Regions from separate parts of the Homo sapiens genome. Here regions 2 and 3 are each linked to region 1. Evidence: promoter capture Hi-C in 16 types of primary human blood cells and fetal thymus (Javierre and others, 2016). All regions are on one chromosome and are shown on one strand. Each heading gives the region's core, a stretch centred on a gene start or on the middle of the fragment in contact. The rest is flanking DNA. Distances are from core to core; before and after follow the strand shown. Region 1 holds the start of PCDHB1 (protocadherin beta 1). Region 2 overlaps PCDHA1 (protocadherin alpha 1). Region 3 has its middle 1.9 kb from the start of PCDHB2.

Region 1 (2,587 bases), core at 45-2,544:
CCCAAATGTAGGTTTGATTACAAAGGGAAGGTCTTCTCTGAGGAAGCAGGTGACTTTTCCTCCCACTCGAATGTCCCGGTCTCTGATAGTGAAAAGGGCTACTACTGTCTGTGGTGGTGAGTCTTCAGGGAGTGGGCTGGACACAGAGGAGACCATCACTTCGGGAGGATTGTCATTCACATCCACCACTTCTACCAGGACTTTGCTGTGGGCAGAGAGGCCTCCACCATCTGTAGCTTGAATGTCAATGTCGTATGTTTCAATGGCTTCAAAATCGAGGGGTCCTCTTAGTCGAACTTCTCCATTTTGAGGGTCAATCTGAAACGTCTTGAGAATTGCTTCTGGGTTTTGAGCTAAAGAGTAAGTTATCGCTTTGTTGGTGCCCTCGTCTAGGTCCACGGCAGTCACCGTGGCCACCAAAGAGCCATTGGGGCTGTTCTCTGATACCTGGGCTCTGTACACCAGTCGCGAGAACTGGGGCACGTGGTCGTTGACATCCAGAACCACCACGTGGATGTGAGCTGTGCCAGACTTAGGCGGGGACCCGCCGTCCACCGCCGTAATTGTCAAGTTGACTTCAGGCTGCTCCTCTCGGTCCAGGGGTTTGTTCAGCACCAGCTCAGCATATTTAGGCCCGTGGCTGCAGAAGCGGGTGTGCAGGTGGAAATACCCATTGGCACTCAGGGTGTAGTTCTGGAGACCGTTAAGGCCCACGTCCAGATCCTGGGCGCTCTGCAGAGGAAAACGTGAACCCAAAGGGGTGCTCTCCGGAATCTTTAAAAGCGGCTCCTTGTTTAGGAAAACTGGGGCATTGTCATTGATATCAAATACCCTGACCTCGGCCCGGAAGGACTGCAGCGGCTCCACCAGGACTACTTCAAAGTGCAGAACACAAGGGTCGGCTTTGCCACAAAGTGACTCCCGATCCAGTTTCTCCTTCACAAACAAATCTCCCGTCTTGCGGTGGAGCCGGAAATGCATTTTGTTGCCCTCGGAAACCAGCCGCGCCCCGCGCGCAGCCAGCTTCCCTACCTCCAGTCCTAGGTCCTTAGCTACGTTGGCCACAAACGAGCCGCTCTCCATTTCCTCTGCCACTGAATAGCGGATAGTTGTCGCATCCCCCACAGATATGCACAGAAAAATGAGAAGAGATCCCACTTGCCTGTTTTGCAAAGATTTTCTGCGCGTACCCGCCATCAGTTCTCACAAGCGCGCTCTCTGCAATCAGAGCCAACTGTTGCGGATATACTTTCACTTTTCTGCAACAGGTTACTGCAACAGCTGCTCTCCGCTTCACTAGCCTCTAACTGCAGCACCACCAAAGGCTAGCCGAGCCCATTAAGCTGTTTTGCACTTGAAAGAAAATTTGCATTGAGCGACTCAACTCCCCAGTCTAGCGAATGTATTAATAGATATGTTCTCATTCCGGAGAGTTAGGTAGAGGTTGAAAGTTTGTTGCCAAAGCAACAACAGACTCACCTGTTAATTCCCTTTCAGGAAAAAAAGTCCTTGGGAATTGAGAAGCCAATGAGATTAGTCGTTCAAGCTGAAGTCATTCTATCTGCTAGCTGTCTGGAGCCACTGAAGCTGTGGGCGAACAGCAACAAGTTTAAGCTACATCTGCACACTCTGCGGTCCATCCAGAGACCAAGAAAGAAGCACAAGGATCCTGCAGAGTCTTCCGAAGCCCAAGCCAAATATATGAGGCAGGGAGCTAGAGAATGTGGAGGAAGTGGTCAGTAGGAAAAGGAATGGGAACAGACATTCTCCTTCAGAAACTTGAGGTCCAGTAAGTACACTGACAGGGGACTAAGCCAACTGACCTCTTGATTTGCACTACGCTATCATGCTACTTCTACGTATTCGCTCCGCCCCCCTCCAAATATCTGTATACACGTGCACAAAGGGAGCAGCTGGCTTGTCACTTATGATTATAATGGCAGTAGTATTTATTGGATATGATTTCCATGTACTGAGACTATGACAAGTGATTTACATGCATTATTTAATTTAATACTTGCAACAACTATATGGAGTAGACATTATTAAAAAAAAAAAAAGACAAAGAAAGTGAGATGGGAGAGGTTATGTCAAGGTCCCCTACCTAGCAAATGTTAGAAATAAAACTCAATTTAATTTTGTCTGACTCCGAAGTCTATGCTCTTAATCAGTACACTACTCTGCTTCCCAGATAATATAATGAATAAATCAAATGAAGATAAATATTTGGTTTTGGATTTTAAAGCAAATAAAATAAGATTGCTTACACATATTGAAAATGACCTAATAGAAATATAGGAGATATTTGTTGAGTTTCCTTTATGATCATAGGATAATAGAATGTTTAATAAGACATTTCAGAAAGATGAGATCCAGTCTCCTTCTCACCCACTCTCCACTTTAAAAAAAAAAAAAAACAGATGAAGAAACTAAGGCCCGAAGTGATGAAGTCACTTGCCCAATTCATACAGCTACTCATGGCAGTGTAAGAACTAGAACTTGTCTTCTGATGCTGTCTCATGCTCATTACCTAAAACATTTGATTTCTCATTTGTGCTCAATACTTTATGTCCCAGGTGCTATAAAA
Region 2 (2,587 bases), core at 61-2,560, 47 kb after region 1:
TTTTTTTATTGTTGTTTGTTAGAGATAGGTTCTCACTCTGTCAACCAGGCTGAAGTGCAGTGGTGCAATCATTGCTTGATGTAACCTCAAACTCCTGGACTCAATCGACCCTCCTGTCTCAGCCTCCCAAGTGGCTGGGACTACAGGCCACCATACCTGGCTCCTTGGAGTTGTTTTTGCCTCAGGATCTTTACACATCTGGTTTGCTTTTGTCTTGAATGATTTCTCATCCATTCTTTTTTTTTTTTTTTTTTTTTTTTTTTTTTGAGACGGAGTTTCGCTCTGTCGCCCAGGCTGGAGTGCAGTGGCGCGATCTCGACTCACTGCAAGCTCCGCCTCCCGGGTTCACGCCATTCTCCTGCCTCAGCCTCCTGTGTAGCTGGGACTACAGGCACGCGCCACCATGCCCGGCTAATTTTTGTATTTTTAGTAGAGACGGGGTTTCACCGTGTTAGCCAGGATGGTCTCGATCTCCTGACCTCATGATCCGCCCGTCTCGGCCTCCCAAAGTGCTGGGATTACAGGCGTGAGCCTCTCATCCATTCTTAGCATGACTCCTCACTCTTCAAGTCTGTATTAAATGTAACCTCCTTGGAAAGGCATTCTATGACATTCCTAGCCAAGCAGCACCCCCTTGGCCTATTATTCTCTACCACTGTAAGATTCACAAAGGCAAAAAATGTATCTGTTTATTCACCAATGTATCACCAGTGCCTAGCACAATTCCTGGCCCATAACAGGTGTTTAGTAAATACTTGCTGGATGAATGAATGAAAGGACTGATGTGAGAAGTGAAAGTGGTACCCACTCTTTAGCAGACCAAACAACTCTCCAATGAGGCACTTTTGGGGTCCCTAAAGACAATGATGTAATGCATGTAAAGTACTAAGCTTGATCCTTAGCACAATGCAAGAATTCAGTAAATGGTATCACATATGGGCAATTATATATAATGCAGCTCTCAGGGCTTAGGAGACCAAGATAATGATACTGCAAATTTACAGCAGGCAGTGACGAGAGAGGGTAAGAAATTTTCTTCTCTCTTCCAAACCCTTTTCCTTACACCCTGGCAGAGCTGACACAATAGCACTTTAGGGATGAGAAACAAATTTTTTCTCTGAGACTAATGACTTTGATCTATCTAAGTTAATCAAATCTGCAATTGAGCTCAGCCAGAATCTGCCTGTTTACCTTTAAAATACAGGTCCTGTCTCTAAGAGACTGAGACAAAAGAGAGAAATGTATTTAAAAACCTCTGATTCGGCACCTAAAACTGGGTTTCAGCACCACTCCACAGTCCTTTAGTTGCCCTCAGAGCCCAAAATGGAAATTTTTCTTCAACCATAACCAGGACTCTGCATGAGGCCTAAGCACTGTCATCTGGAGATGCAGAACACAGAGATATGTTCATCTTGCACAGTTAAAGGACATTAATGGCTGTGTGTATTGGCAGAGGGAGCCCCTCACAGCAGGACTGCCAAGAGTTAATCCACTTTAACATGTCACTGAGCTTCCTGGTTCTATATGACTCAGCCTAAACTCCAGGAGGCAGAGATCTAGTCAGGTGCCTCCTCCACATGTCCAGCTTCCGCAGAGCAGAACAAGGTGTGGTCTCTCCAGTCCCTCACAGACCACTGTGCCTCACCTGTTCTGGTTGTTGTATAAAACAAACATCTCTGAGAGCTCAGCAGCATGTAGACTGTGACTCATTCCAGTAAAACAAAAGCTTAAGGATCTGACAAACACTGACTGACCTCCTAATCTGAATTCCTTTTGGTTAAGAGCACTCAAGACACTTGGCTGGCTTTGCCTATAAAATGTCATGCCTTTGGGGCAGAATCATGGAGATACTCCCTTTTGAAGAAGATGAAAACGGAAGAAGCACATTTCTACCCCTAACCCCAACCAGGGGCCAGTATCAGCAAATGATCAATCAAGGAAATGTTTCTTCTTTCAGTGCTGCCTCCTTTCCCTTCTAGGATCTCCGGCAAGTCCCCTCCCTTATGCTCCCAGGGTCCTAGCTCACCCTCAGGCAAAGACAAGACTGAGGATGCAGTCAAGACCCAAATGAATGGGCCTGTTAAGAGGCTAGAAGGAGGATTTCAGACACATATAAATCTGGTAGGGGTCTGAATCGTTAGGCAGAGCCCTTCCCAGACTACAGATTACAACCCAATAGGATTTAAAAGTTTATTTAACAGAATACGACCATAATTATACAAAATATGGTTTTGCTTTTTTATTGGATTAGCCGATATCTTCACAATTGGTAGGGATATATTTTAAAATCAGAACAACATATATTTTAATAAATGCATACAGATCTTCACTTCTACTTTAAAAACTGCCCTCTGGGGCCGGGAATGGTGGCTCACATCTAAAATCCCAGCACTTTGGGAGTCTGAGGCAGGTGGATCACTTGAAGCCAGGAGTTCAAGACCAGCCTAGGGAACATGGTGAAACCCCATCTCTACTAAAACTATAAAAATTAGCGAGACTGTGGTGGTGCACGCCTGTAATTTCATCTACTTGGGAGGCTGAGGCATAAGAATCACTCGAACCCGGGAGGCGGAGGTTTCAGTGAGCT
Region 3 (2,587 bases), core at 36-2,535, 41 kb before region 1:
TATCAATATTATTTTCCTTTCTAATGCCTAGGAGAACTTTCAACATAACCTCAATTCAATTACCACATCTAGCAAAGAGCAATTTCATAATATTAAATAGCCAGTAAATATTCCAGTTTCCCCAATTATCTTTAAAAATGTCTTTTCAGTGATGGTTTCTTCAATCTGCTTCCAAACAGGGTATATATGTCATTGTTTGTTGTTAGGTTTTTTAATTTTGTCTTTTTGTTTCTTTTTTAATGTTAATATAAAGAAGTTATCAAGCCACAGAATGACATGAAGGAAACTTAAATGCATATTTCTCAGTGAAAGAATCCAGTCTGAAAAGGCAATGATACTGTATAATTCAAATTACATGATACTCTGAAAAAGGCCAAATTATAGAGACATTTAAAAGACAAGTGATAGCTAGGAAGAAGAGGGAGGGGGATGAAGAGGTTAAACATGGGGTACTTTACGATACTACAATGGTAGATACATGACATTATGCCGTTGTCAAAATCCACAGAACTATACAACACAAAGAGTGAACACTAAACTATGAAATTTAGTTAATAATTTACCAGTATTGGCTCATCAATTGTAACAAATGTACCACAGTAATGCAAGATTTTGATAACAGGGAAACTTTGAGTGGGAGAAAATCGGTATGTGAGGGGAACTGTTTGTACTATTTGCTCAATTTTCTGTAAACTCTAAGGCTGCTTTAAAAAATAATTTTACTTTGGGAGGCCGAGGCAGGCAGATCACGAGGTCAAGAGATCAAGACCATCCTGGCCAACCTGGTGAAACCCCATCTCTACTAAAAATACAAAAAAAATGAGCCAGGCATGGTGATGGGTGCCTGTAATCCCAGCTACTTGGGAGGGTGAGGCAGGAGAATCACTTGAACCCGGGAGGCGGAGATTGCAGTGAGCTGAGATCATGCCATTGCACTCCAAGCCTGGTGACAAAGCGAGACTCCATCTCAAAATAATAATAATAATAATAAATATTAGGATGTGTCTCTAAAAGATCCATTGGGTTAAAAAATTGGGGGATGAAGAAAAAAATTAAATATATAGAACAGTTAAAAGAACTATACATAAACTACAACTCTAACCTCCATCCAAACTTAACAATTGTTTATATTTTACCATATTTGTTCTATCTTATTCTGTACACACACCCGCTTTTCTGATGACTTATATGAAAGTAACTTGCAGACATCATATTTCACCTCTAAATATTTCAGCAGGTATCACATAATTATAATATTATCTCATATAATCATAATGGTTCTATCATACCTAAGAAAATTTAAAAAAATTCTACAGTTATCTAAAATCCAGCCCCAATCAAATTTCACTGTCTTTCCATTATCTTTTCCTCAATTTTGATAAGAATTCACACTCACTCAAGTTCCTTTGACAAATGCACTTACTTTTTTAACTATTTGTTATAAGGAATGTCTTAGAAACTTTTTCAACCAACTTTGATAATTGTATTTGGCTATTAGATCTATTTACTCTAGAATACTCCCCCATCTTTAATGACATTAGATTTCTGAAGTGTCCAGACTAGTTGTTTTGTAGGATGTCCTACATTCCAAATTTGATTGTTTCCTCATGGTATCATTTAACCTGTTCTTCTATCCCCTGTATTTTCAGAAAACTGGACTGGATGATTTATTAAATGTAACAATAGCATAATATTTTAAAAAGCTCTCATTTATCATCTTGTAACTGGCTAAAAAAAGGATAATCACAGGTTCCTTTTCTTAACATTTAGAAAACAAATGCCTATCTCTACCTGTTGATATTATTTTTTGCTTTCCATGATTATTACTTTTATATGGATGTTATAATAATTCAAAATATGTTAATTCATTGACATTGAGCATTAAACAAATTCATTGAGGTGAATAACACCCAAGGTCCAAGTCTTTAAAAACAGCTTTTTATATAATCTGCAAAACCTGATTAGGGTCCGAAATAGATGTAGTGAAGATCAGTTATATCATACAGGCAAATTATAACTGGTAGGTTACTCGAAATTTTATATTTAACCAGGTATATGGCTATTTCCTTTGGACAGGTTTTCTGAACTAAAGCAGTTATGGTTAATTTGGGATAACATAAAGGAGAGGAAAATAGGTAATATGAAGAAAATAACATAATCTCTTCTCACAAGCTGGAGAATAGAAAACTTAATATCTAAGATATTTCAGAGGATACAATAACCAAGAACACATTAGGTTTTATTGTGAAAAAAATTTTAAAACCTCTCATGTTGTCATGTGTCCTCACAATTCAGAAGGTTTTACCCATCTTTCATTTCAATGCTATTAACACACCTAGAAATAGAAGTAAGTTTCTCTTTTTCAAAGATTATATAACCAACACCAATATTTTATATTCGTATATAGGTTTCCAGCTTTAAATGCATTATATCCGCTATGCTATTTTAAATCATTTATTTTCTTAAACCTTGATGAGAATACACCTTCCTTCTTTACAAATGCTCTTATTTTCTTAATCTCCTTTAATAAGGAATCATATATATTAGATTATAATTTATAGCATATTTATAAGTCTGAATGAAATAT

The links. Contacts are between HindIII fragments. The CHiCAGO score rates a contact against its expected background, and 5 or more counts as called.
Region 2: a fragment that was not itself captured here is called in contact with the fragment with the promoter of PCDHB1 in region 1 in 1 of 17 cell types (neutrophils); the score reaches 5.3 in neutrophils.
Region 3: a contact is called between a fragment that was not itself captured here and the fragment with the promoter of PCDHB1 in region 1, in 1 of 17 cell types (neutrophils). The highest score is 5.3, in neutrophils.

What each region holds. Positions count from the first base shown.
Region 1 is chr5:141,050,081-141,052,667 of GRCh38, reverse strand. PCDHB1 (protocadherin beta 1) reads right to left here and starts at 1,294. Exons shown (of 1, transcript NM_013340.4): 1 at 1-1,294. The coding sequence starts at 1,197. PCDHB1-AS1 (PCDHB1 antisense RNA 1) reads left to right here. Exons shown (of 4, transcript NR_105056.2): 3 at 1,498-1,789. It also overlaps PCDHB@. RefSeq lists an enhancer at 885-1,713. The HindIII fragment of the contact is 4,524 bases long and covers 1-2,587 here.
Region 2 is chr5:141,003,381-141,005,967 of GRCh38, reverse strand. All of the region lies in intron 3 of PCDHA1 (protocadherin alpha 1), which reads right to left. All of the region lies in intron 3 of PCDHA2 (protocadherin alpha 2), which reads right to left. The region is part of intron 3 of PCDHA3 (protocadherin alpha 3); the gene reads right to left. All of the region lies in intron 3 of PCDHA4 (protocadherin alpha 4), which reads right to left. It also overlaps PCDHA5, PCDHA6, PCDHA7, PCDHA8, PCDHA9 and PCDHA10, and 7 more genes. Among named protein-coding and RNA genes, the nearest start is that of PCDHAC2, 38 kb to the right of the region's middle. RefSeq lists an enhancer at 1,072-1,664. The HindIII fragment of the contact is 836 bases long and covers 893-1,728 here.
Region 3 is chr5:141,091,401-141,093,987 of GRCh38, reverse strand. It overlaps PCDHB@. Among named protein-coding and RNA genes, the nearest start is that of PCDHB2, 1.9 kb to the left of the region's middle. The HindIII fragment of the contact is 3,290 bases long and covers 1-2,587 here.